4 separate regions of the Homo sapiens genome follow, and regions 1, 2 and 3 are each linked to region 4. Evidence: promoter capture Hi-C in human tissues and cell types (Jung and others, 2019). All regions are on one chromosome and are shown on one strand. Each heading gives the region's core, a stretch centred on a gene start or on the middle of the fragment in contact. The rest is flanking DNA. Distances are from core to core; before and after follow the strand shown.

What was found. Contacts are between HindIII fragments. The study calls those that stand out against the background at their distance.
Region 1: a contact is called between a fragment that was not itself captured here and the fragment with the promoter of HRK in region 4, in 2 of the 25 tissues and cell types used here (dorsolateral prefrontal cortex and hippocampus).
Region 2: a fragment that was not itself captured here is called in contact with the fragment with the promoter of HRK in region 4 in 2 of the 25 tissues and cell types used here (mesenchymal stem cells and mesendoderm cells).
Region 3: a contact is called between the fragment with the promoter of MED13L here and the fragment with the promoter of HRK in region 4, in 1 of the 25 tissues and cell types used here (mesendoderm cells).

What each region holds. Positions count from the first base shown.
Region 1 is chr12:116,116,941-116,119,640 of GRCh38, forward strand. The region is part of intron 2 of MED13L (mediator complex subunit 13L); the gene reads right to left. Among named protein-coding and RNA genes, the nearest start is that of MIR620, 30 kb to the right of the region's middle. The HindIII fragment of the contact is 3,682 bases long and covers 1-2,700 here.
Region 2 is chr12:115,986,184-115,988,883 of GRCh38, forward strand. It overlaps MED13L (mediator complex subunit 13L), which reads right to left. Exons shown (of 31, transcript NM_015335.5): 18 at 926-1,105; 19 at 83-306. Among named protein-coding and RNA genes, the nearest start is that of LINC02463, 100 kb to the left of the region's middle. The HindIII fragment of the contact is 3,301 bases long and covers 1-2,700 here.
Region 3 is chr12:116,276,341-116,279,040 of GRCh38, forward strand. It overlaps MED13L (mediator complex subunit 13L), which reads right to left and starts at 1,353. Exons shown (of 31, transcript NM_015335.5): 1 at 720-1,353. The coding sequence starts at 791. RefSeq lists silencers at 1,182-1,651, 1,702-1,761. The HindIII fragment of the contact is 5,179 bases long and covers 1-2,700 here.
Region 4 is chr12:116,879,927-116,882,702 of GRCh38, forward strand. It overlaps HRK (harakiri, BCL2 interacting protein), which reads right to left and starts at 1,515. Exons shown (of 2, transcript NM_003806.4): 1 at 1,050-1,515. The coding sequence starts at 1,381. The coding sequence ends at 1,106. RefSeq lists silencers at 44-244, 1,123-1,202 and an enhancer at 1,708-2,669. The HindIII fragment of the contact is 18,466 bases long and covers 1-2,776 here.

The sequences.
Region 1 (2,700 bases), core at 139-2,638, 760 kb before region 4:
GTTCTAGGAAAAAACGAACTCTTTTTCTCCTACTGTACTCTCACAACACAAAACAAACTACAGCAAATGTATATAGTAGTTGTATTTGTAAATGCCAAAAACTGGAAACCATCCAAATGTCTCTCAACAGTGGGAAAAACAATGAAATATCTATACAATGGGCTACTACTCAGAAATAAAAAGGAACTTCCAATACAAGAAAAAATATGGATGAATCTCATTATGCTAAGTAAAAAGAAGCCATACTCAGACTATGTGCTGTATGATTCATTCATATGTCATTCTCGCAAAAGGCAAATTTAAGGTACTGTAAACTTCTCAATGGTTTCCAGGGATGGAGGTGGTGAGACAGGTTGATACCAAAGGGACACCGGAAATTTGAGGGGTGATGCCCCCCACTCTATATCTTGATTATAGTGGCAGTTACATACCTGCATACATTTGTGCAAACGCGCAGAAATATTATTTACTAAATAATGTATTATTTACTAAATATGGTAAACTTTACTCACAATCTTTTACTGTTCTAAATTACGAAAACTCATTTTACCATTGGGCCAAGTTTCTAGACTTAAGCCATCATGAATATGCTAATATTGACCTCTTTATTTTCTTAGTATTGTAATCAAAAGGACTCCTACTCTAAATTTATATATAAAAAGCATTCTCTAAATCCAAAAGATATGGTATTTATGTGATTAACCTCCATTCATAAAGTATTAAAAACAAAAAAAAAAAGTTTGAGTAATTAACAAGGAAATTCAGACTGAAGTAACTGTTCCTAGAGCCCAATGTACCAGTTATATTCTTCACTTCATATCAAACACTGTATATAATGCAAATGTAACAAAATATAAACATCTTAAGGCATTTTTTTAATTTTTTGAGACAGGGTCTCGCTCTTTCACCCAGGCTAGAGTGCAGTTACATGATCACAGCTCACTGCAGCCTCGACCTCCCAGCCTCAAGCAATCCTCCTACCTAAGTCTCCCCACTTTCTGGGAGTTACAGGCATAGGCCACCATGCCCAGTTACTTTTTAATTTTTTTGTAGAGATGGGGTCTTACCATGTTGCCCAGGCTGCTCTTGAATCCCTGAGCTCAAGTGATCCTTCTGCCTCAGACTCCCAAAGTGCTGGGATTACAGGTGTCAGCCACTGCACGCAGTCAAAATTTTTATTTTTTAAATGCTAAAAATTATTTTGAAAAATAATTATATGGTCATTCTCATCTGTTCTTTTATATTCTGTAAGTATATAACATAAATTAACATAAAGTTTGGGCACTAAGTTAATATAAAATAGGAAAGTAGTAATACAAAATAAAACAAATCATACTATATTAAGCCCTTGTCTAAGGAAAGTGTACTAAAGCTTAGAAAACAATAGAAAATTATAAATTATAAGTTAACAAACAAAATTTAAATATAAATCAGTAGATAATTTAAAAAGCATTCAGTGTTTGGATTTAAATTTCCTATGTCTTAGATATTGCATTGAAAATTACATACTAAAGATTCAAGAATAATCAATTTATCATAAAAAATTATAAGCCAATAACCACTCTAATAAATACTATCAATTTAGGCTATGAAATTAAGGATAATGCATTAATTTGCTGACCCTTTCAATTTACTATCACTAACAAATGCATTTGTCAAACAGAATGTAAATCAGACCATCCTTTTTTTCTCATGATCAGAGTTTCCAGAAATACAGGAGCAGCATATGTTTCAATAAATCCCTAAAATTTCAAAATAAGTTAAATCTGCAAAGACATGCTTGGAATCTAATAACAGATAATTTGATCAACATTAACTAGACAACACTACTTGACCGTGTTATGTGTCAAGCACCAGGCTAAGAACTAGGAATGCTCTCAAAAAGCTAACACATGTATGTGCAAACCACTCGGAAGCAAAAATTATTTTGAAACTTTGCAGAATAGCTACTAGCATAAAATGTCTTAAATTTTAAATTAACAATTAAATAACATATAATCAAGGTTGGTTTTCTATCCAGAAAACAATCATTCTTGTTTTATTTTATGTGCCAAGCTTTGAATTAGGCACTACATATAAATGGGGAGGTGGGGAGACTACTCACCACCACACTATGAGACATCTGGCACACTTCTGTCACTCAGTGTCGGGCTTCTTCATTATCACTATCATTAAGAGTCCTAATTGGGATCAAATATAATCACCCCTAACGGAAACTAAAAATACTGATTCTCTCTTTTCCATCCTCCCCTACAGTGTGGACAAGGACATACATTCTAACCCCTACCAGATGCTCCTGGTCGACACCTTTGACTCTGAATCCAGGGACAAAAAGAAAGCCGATGGAGATATCTTTCTGACAGCTCTAGGAACAGAGGCTTCAAGATCAAGTTTTTGGTGCTAAAGTAGCAGAGGTACCACAGCATCTAGTGCTTGGTGGTAGCTAGCAGTACCTTTCTCATTGAACCAGTTCTGTAGCGCCGATTGTAAAAGTGCCAAATAGTTGGATACCCAATATTCTTTTAATCAACTCCTTTTCTTAGTTTGAAGCTAAGAACTCTGATGAATACAGTTGATTCTAATCTCCATTTTATACATGAGAAAACTAACACTTAATCTTAAGAAGGCACAGTGCCTTACACCTGTAATCCTATCACTTTGGAAGATCAAGTGGTAGGATTGCAAGGCTCCAGCTCTTAA
Region 2 (2,700 bases), core at 12-2,511, 890 kb before region 4:
ATTTGTCTTGAAATTTAGTCATCACTATAAACAATCAGAGGATCCAAGTCATAAAAAGCAATTTTCACAGTAACTTCCTCACCTCGTATACAGCACTCAAGTCCCTGAAGAAAGTTTTGGCTCCTTCGAGCAAGGCCTCATTTTCTGGACACACCACAATATAGGCAACATCACGGTGGCCCCCATATGGGTCCAACAAGAGCCTCTCCCAAAACGGCAAGGAGAATGGCGAGATGGTGAGGAAATCCTTGTCATAGCCTACCAGCAGAGTGGGGATGGGCAACGGCTCAGGAGATTCTTCCGAACCTAAAATGACATTGTAGTGTAGAAAGGTGCTAGAGAGTTTTTCCCACAACCTTACAATTTTGAAATTCCTGGTGCACTGGTCTTAATTCTGGCATCTGAAATGTCACTCCATGTTCACAAGACATTCTTAAAAGTATTTTTGAAATCATCTAATTAAATGGTCACTGATGAGGACTCTTAATTAAGTAAGTCAGAATTTGTTTATAAAGGTTCAGTAAGATCAGAGGGCAGACTAGAACAAGTTAAAATTAACTTTCCAAGCAGCACTACATCATTTCCTTCAAGATAAGCATTATGATTCTGACTATGATGAAGTAGACAGAACTGGCCCAGAAGTCCATCCAGATGAAAATGCAGTGAGGATTGGGAAAATGAGGAGAATCTAAAAAATGCACTTTTTAGGGATTAGCTTCCTCACTGACCTGGATTATGCCAAGGGTGGTAGGAAACTTGACTCCAAAAGTAACTTTAGGAAAACAAAGAGATTATAAAACTAAATGGTCAAAGAAAAAGACTCCCCTATTTTGTTAGTGACGCAAGGACTTGACAGTAACTAACGCTGCTCTTCACTGAACAGCACTGAAGTCAGAAGGAATTTTAAACAGGACAAAGACCCTACCGTAGGTTCCCCGTCCTGCCATTTTATGGAACTGCTGCCAAGTGAGTGGTCCCTGCACATGCTGGATGTTCTCCCAGGTCCTGCCCGTGCGCTTCTTTTGGATGGCATCTTGGAGAAAGGGCTGCAGGGACAACAGCATACGAACCACATCCTGGGAGGAGAGCATGCTGATGTCCAGCACTGGAAGAGAAGTGAGAAGAAACAGAGAAGATAAGGGGGCTAGCACCCTCCTCTTCCTCACCATCACCTCGAGCCTCAGTTATATTCAGAACAATGACGTTATTAGCTGTAGTAGATTCTAAAATATTTGACTTAGGAGTCAGGAGGAAAGATATTCTTCTACTAAATTAGAGAAAATAATTGATAATTTAGTATCAACAATAATAAAAGGGGAAATGGATTACTCTATATAAAAAAGTTTAATGGAAGAATTGTTTAAAAGTGGAAAAATGGATAGGTGCGACTTTTTAAAACCATGGAAATCTGTTTCCAAGGATTTTCATAAGACAGCTGCAAAAGTTTCTTAATTATTACTTTTATTTGCAAATATCAATGTTTTGTTTATATGATAAGTAGGAAAAAATGGAACTTAAATAAAAGCTTTTAAAAACTCTTTAAATGCTCCTAATTGTAAAAATATTTTCACAAAATACAGAATGCATGAAGAGAAGGCCAATCTTCAGTGCAGCCAGAGGCACAGGGAAACACAGCTGAAGCCCTCAAGGACCGAAGTCCGCTGCAGGCACGGATGGGATTCACTGCCTTCTAAATGCAGATGACTTTAGTCCCAGCAGTCGCCCTGGGGAGGGATTTCTAACCTAAAATTTGAAAGTTGTCTGAACTCCATGCAAAACTGTGCAAGCACGCTTGGACATACGTATTTTTTTCTCAGGATGGAGGGTTCATCATGCAAATCAGATTCTTAAAAAGGTCTGCAGAAAGAGCTAATGACGCTGGAGGTGATGTGGTGTGAATCTGCACAGCTGGATTCCTGAAGACTCTGCCTCCCTCTTACCCTTCTAGCTGATGAGGGAAGGGGCATGGAAAGAAATCTAAGATTTATCTGCCAACTAAATTTGAAACACAGGATGATTAAGGATTCTTAAGACATTTTCAAACGTGTCCCTAAATCAGTAAAACACAGGTTGCAAAGTGGTGGTCCACAGAATATTTTGTTAAACTTTGGAACAAATCACTCCAGGAAATTTCACACACAAATCTAGATTGCCAGCTTCCCTTGAACTGGGAGACCCATATTCCTGCATAACCACCACTTGCTGGAGCTGAGGAGCAGCTGTCCCTCTCAGGCACCTCATGGCCCCTTCCCTGCTGTCTGTCCTGAGTCTGATGCAGTTTTCATTGCCTTTTATCTTCAGCCAGTGCTTCTTTTTACATATAGTAAACAACAACAGTGAATACTTCTTGTATTAATGGCTCTATCAAAAGCAGGAAATCACAGACCAAGAGAACCACAGATTTGAGGAAACTAAAAGCAAGCACGTTTCTTATGAACCCTATTCCTGTGCCTGCAAAATAGAAAGTGAGTTTTGAAAAGACAGCTTAAGGCACTGCCTTTTGCAAATGTCTCCCATCACATTCATTTACATTATCTGGTACTTTTAGGCATCTTAAAATTTGAAACCCAGACCTCCCCTGCAATAAAATGTCTTATTTTTCATCCTGAAAGACGACACCACTGATTCATGCACACAGACTGCTTTTCTGTCCGAAGGCCTATCTAGTAAAAGGACTCACCCAAGCTGATCATCCACATT
Region 3 (2,700 bases), core at 103-2,602, 600 kb before region 4:
TGTGTGTGTGTGCGGATTCGTTGTTAGGATAGAGAAAAACAGTTTTTAAAAGACACAGGAGGAGAGAAAGAAGAAAAAGCTTTCTCCACCTTCCGTCGGCTCGGTGCAATGGCTTTACGGCTCTCCAGCATAGTAAGCCCCGAGAGGCAGGCGGCTGTCGATGTTTACAATCGCGGGAGCTTCGGGTGCAAGAGTCCTTTCCTGACACAATCGCATTCAATCAACTATTTTAGGGCGAAATTGCAGGTGTCATTATGGAATTTAAAAAAATTCAAAAGGCAGGCGGGCGGGCAGGCAGCTGATCCAACAACGGGGGAAGAGGTTGCCGATCGGAGGCGCGGCAGCACAAGGCAAAGCCTTCCACATTTACGGGGGGAAAAAAAGGGGGGAAAGGGGAGGAGAAGGGGAGTGCGATTGCAACAGAGGGTGGGCGTTCGAAGTGCGACCCAGAATCCGCAGCTCCGAGACTTCCACATGCAAATTCCACGCCGAGCGCCGCGCTCACAAATGATTTTTAAAGAGCCAAATAAACACTGGATGGGATCCAAGGCGAGAGAGAGACGATCCAAAAGGGGGAGAATCGGCGAGAGGCGAACGGCGGGGAGACGCGAGGGAGGGGCGAAGTCCCGGCGGCGGGAGGAGAAAGTTGGTCGGCGGCGGAGGTCGGGGACCCCCCCCCTTCCCCGGCACAGCCCCCTCCCCGCAGCCCGGCTACTCACCAGCGAAAAGAGGTTGGAGTGACAATCCTCCAGGCTCGCCCCGTTCGCCACCCAGTTCGCTGCCGCAGTCATGATCCTCCGCGAGCCCGGCCGCCAGAGCGGGGCATGTCGGAGCGAGGCGTCCGAGGCGAGGCCGGGCCGGGCGGCGGCGCCTCGCCGGGGAGCGCGGGGCGGCCGGGCCGCCGCCGCCGCCGGGGGAGGGCGCGAGGGCCGGCGGGCAGGCGGGAGGCGCCGCGGCGACGCCGCGCCGGGGGCAGCGGGCCCGGGCTGGCGGGGGGGGCGCGCGCCCCGGGCCGGCGCTGCGGGCCGGCCACCGCCTCCGCCTTCCCTGCTCCTCAGCCGCCGCCGCCGCCGCTGCTGCCGCTGCCGCCGCCTTGTTTATCTCCAGCCACCGACTCCCCCTCGGCCCCCGCCGGCGCGCGAGGGGAGGCGAGCCCCGGAGCCGCCGCCGCCGCCTCGGAGCCGCCGCCGCCGCGGAGCGCGAACTCGCGAAGGGGGGGGTGCGGACGAAGCCAGCGGGCGACCCCGGCAGCCGAGCGACGTCCCCTCCTTCCTCTTCCTCCCCCACCCCCCCCTCCTCCCCAGTCAGCCTCGCTTCTCCTCCCTCCCCGGGCTCGCTTGCTCTGACAGCAATGGCGGCCGCCGACCGCGGCTCGGCCCGCCATTGGCTGGCGCTTGGTCACGTGACGGGCGCCGGCCGCGCGGGGGGAGCGAGGGGCGGGCGGGGGAGGGGTCCGGAGTGGCGGCGGCGGCGGCGGCTCGCGGGAGGCGCTGCTGAGCTGAGCGCGGCCGGGTCCTCCGGCCGGGAAGAGGGAGGGAGGGAGGCAGAGAGGGAGAGAAAGAAGTGCGGGCGGCCGGGCTCCCCGGCGGGCGGCGGACTGCCGGCCCGTGGCTGCCGTGGGCTGCCCCTCGTGGCCGCCCCGCCCCCTCGCGGTGCACTGATCGTGGCGGGGCGGGACCGTGGGTCCCGGGCGCGCCCGTGGTGGCCGCGGAGGAGGGCGCGGGACCCCCGGCCTGTGCCCTCGCAGCCCAGGCCGGCTGGCGTGGCGCGGCGGCCGCGATGTGGGCCAGGCAGCGGGTCCGAGTGCCCTGGGGAATGTGTCCTCAGAGGCTCGCGCCGCCGTCCGCCTTTTGCAGAGGAGAAAACTAAAGCACAAAGGGATTAAATCACTTGCCCGAGGTCGCACACTTGGGAAGAGGAGTCCAGATTCGAACCCGCGCACAGTGAAGCCAAGCTCTTGGACAAGGTTTCACAGGCTTCGCCCAGGGATATTCACGGCTGCCATAGACGGAGCGCTTACTGTGTTCCAGACACTGTGCGTTTAATACAGAAATGTTTATTGAGCCCTTACTCCTAGTTACTGTGTGCACTCATTCATTCATTCATTCATTCATTACATAAATGTTTCCTGAGCTCCTGCTGTGTGCCAGAATCTGTTATAACTTCCAGGCACTGTGCTAAGGCCGTGTTGGGAGCAGACCCTTCTTCCTGGCGTCATTCATTGGATAACCAACATTTCCTGAGTGTATATGGCCTGGGAGTCCGGAGGAGTGCTGCTATGAAGAGAAGCTCTCCCAGTCCTCAAGAAATGGATCCCCGAAAAGGGGGAGGAGAAAACAATGTCTTCACTAATACGCCTCCAAACATGGAACAATCAGCTGTTTCAGGTAGATTAAGCTAAAAGAGGAAGAGTGGATGGCTGGCACAGTGGCTCACGCCGGTAATCCTAGCCGAGGTTTAAGACCAGCCTGAGCAATGTAGCAAGAACCCCCGTCATGACAAAAAAAATAAAATACAAAAATACAAAAATTAGCCAGGCGTAGTGTGGCATGTGCCTGTAGCCCTAGCTACTCGAAAGGCTGAGGTGGGAGGATAACTTGAGCCCTGGAGGCAGAGGCTGCAGTGAGCCCAGTGAGCCGAGGTCGCATCACCGTACTCCAGCCTGAGTGACAGAGAGAGGCCCTGTCTCAAAAAAAAAAA
Region 4 (2,776 bases), core at 265-2,764:
AGCCTGATTCTCTCTCCCTCATTCTCTGCAGCGCTCCTCGCTACTCCAGGATCCAGAGTAGTAAGACGATGCTTACGCTGTGTGCTTCCTCAAAGCGCCTAGCACAGTGCCAGGCGCACAGCTAGGGCACAATGATCCCCCCACCCCAAGAGCCTAGTACCTTCCTCCCACTGATACCAACCACACTAGGTGCTCAGTACCCACTTCCTGTCCTAAGTTCTCAACACATGACCTCCCTAAACAGTGCCCAGCACCCCGAAGGAGCTCAATAAATGTTCCTTCCTTAAGGCTTCCCATTGGAGTTTCCCTGAAAGCCCCCTATTCCAGCCCACTCCGAGGGCGTCTCCTTCCCGTAGCAGCTACAACCGTCTGGGGAGAAGGAAGCCAAACTCCTTAAACAGGACACCTCACTCGAGAAGGAGCGAAGTTGGCAGGGCAGAGGAAAATTGCAAATGCGCGGAGCTTGGGAAGAAAGATTGGGCCAGCCAGAAACCTGGAGGGGGAGGAAGTCTCGAGATGCGCTTGGGGTGCCAGATAATGGGGATCAGAGATTGGAGAAGTGACACTTAGGGACAAGAGGTTGGGAGCAAAGGTGATGGAGACGGGGGCGACTCAGGAACGGCAAGAGGATTGGAACGGGACCGGGGACCTTTCTTGGAAGTGCGATAGATTTTAAGTATTTGGCGTGGCTTACAACTACATTCCCATAGCAAGCACACTTTTTACTTGCATTGTGTGTTTATTTGTGGGGCTGGTGGGGATTATGGAGGCTGAAGTCCTCCGCAAGCCACTGAGCTATAAGTGAGTAGCAAGATGCGCTTAAGGACTCGCAGAGATGGGGGCAGAAACGGTGGACCTTACACTTGGAAGGGAAGACTGGGGACTGGGTAGAAGAGGAGAGGTGGAGATGCTTGCAAGAGAAGAGAACGGAGGAAGAAGGAGAAGGGAAAAGAAGAAAGCCAAACTTGCCACTCTCCCGCTCCCGGGCCAGCCCAGCGTCTCCAGTGCCCAGCTGCCGCGCCCCGGCTCTCGCTCGCTCGCTCGCGTACCTGTTGCTCGCTCCGGCTGGGTCTCGGCTCCGGCCCCACCAAGAAGCCCCGCGTTCCTACAAGTTCCGCCTGCCGAGCAGCCAGGCCGCCAGCGCCGCCACCTGCGCGGCCGCGCACAGCCAAGGCCAGTAGGTGGGGAGCGCGCCGGGCGCCGGCGCCCTCCGGCTCCGCGCGCGGCGCCGCCACATGGTGCGCTGGTGCAGCTCGTCGCCTAGCGCCTTGAGCCGGGCGGCGGTGAGCTGCGCGGCGGACGAGCGCAGCCCCAGGCGACCCGCGCTGCAGGCGCACACGGCCGGGGGGCCGCGGCCGCGGTGCAGGGGGCACGGGCACATGACCGCTGGCCTCGCTCCCGCCCCGCGCTCGGGCCGCCCCTCGCCTCCTCTCCCTCCGGCCTCTGCGCCCGCTGCCGCCGCGCTCCAGCCGCCGGGGGCCTCCCCTGGACACCAAGTTTCTCCTTGTGTTGTGCGTTTGTTGTGCTGACGGCGCTATTATTAATTAAAGTGTCACATGGTGGAGGGGGGCGGGGAGGGGGGTTACATCATCCGGCCCCCGGGGGTTGGGGGGGGGGCTGCAGGCAGAAGAAACCGAGAGGTAACTTTTAACCCTAGCGGCGCCGGCAGCTAGGGAGCGCGAGGTTTGGGAGACGGGGAGCGCGGCGCGGGGCGGCGCGAGAAGGCTCCCCGCAGCGGAGGTCCTGGGCTTTGGGGGTCTCGGGGGACCCCCGCGGAGGCGCGGAGCGCGAGGGAAGGTTGTTCTCCTTCCCCTTTTCCTGAATTCAGCTCGAGTTCCGATTTGGCGAGGGAAAAAGGCTTGTTTGCCGTTTTGGATGAAGCTGATGCTGAATTCGGCTGCATTATTCAAAAATATTCCGAGGCTGTTGTTTTGTTTGGGGGAGGTGGGTGGATTCAAAATCTTATGGAAGGGTCAGATTACACCCAACTTGCCTCGTTTCAGGTCTGACTTGGCACCTGTAGGCTTTCAGCCTGACCCTAACGTGCCCCCAGCGCCTGGCTAGAAACCTGACCCTAAAGTGCCCCCAGCGCCCGGTGGGAGGCTGGATGGGCCCACCTGAGCTCGCGTGGGGCGCGGACGGAGGCATTCTCGCTGCCCGGCACCCGCACCCAAAAGACCCTCGCAAGGGGCTTTCTAAAGGGAAACTTCTTGTCTGCTTTCTTTGTGAACATTATTTTCCTGATGGCGTTACAGTTTTCTGCGATGACCCCGATTTAATGCGCAGTGGAGACCCTAAGGGGTCGGCGAGAGGAGGGGCGCGGGGGACTTTAATTCCCCCTTTTCCAATCCGACAGCCACTCCTGTGCACCTCCAGACTGGAGCGTCTGCAGTTGTCACAAACGGTGAAGGTTCAGATGGGCTGGGCGGCTGTCAGGATTCTGTGGGGGAGAATGAAACCTGTGATCTTAAATCGACTGGGATTCAGACAACTTTGGGATTCAGACCATCGGGATGAGTCCAGAGATGGCTCCAAGTTGGGAGTCTGGAACCTGCTGAGGGAGCTTCCGTTCTTGCCTTCCCACCGCAGAGTATAACCAAGATTCTTCGAGTCTGTGAACTTAGTTTTGGTCTGAATTGATCAGGAGGAGAAATGTCCCTTTTGGCCCACAGCGTGGTGAAATGACAACAAAGTCAGGGCTCAAAGCCCACAACACTGTGTGATTCTGGTGGCCTTTTCCCTCACCCAGCTCCAATTATTCTAGGCTTCATAATGG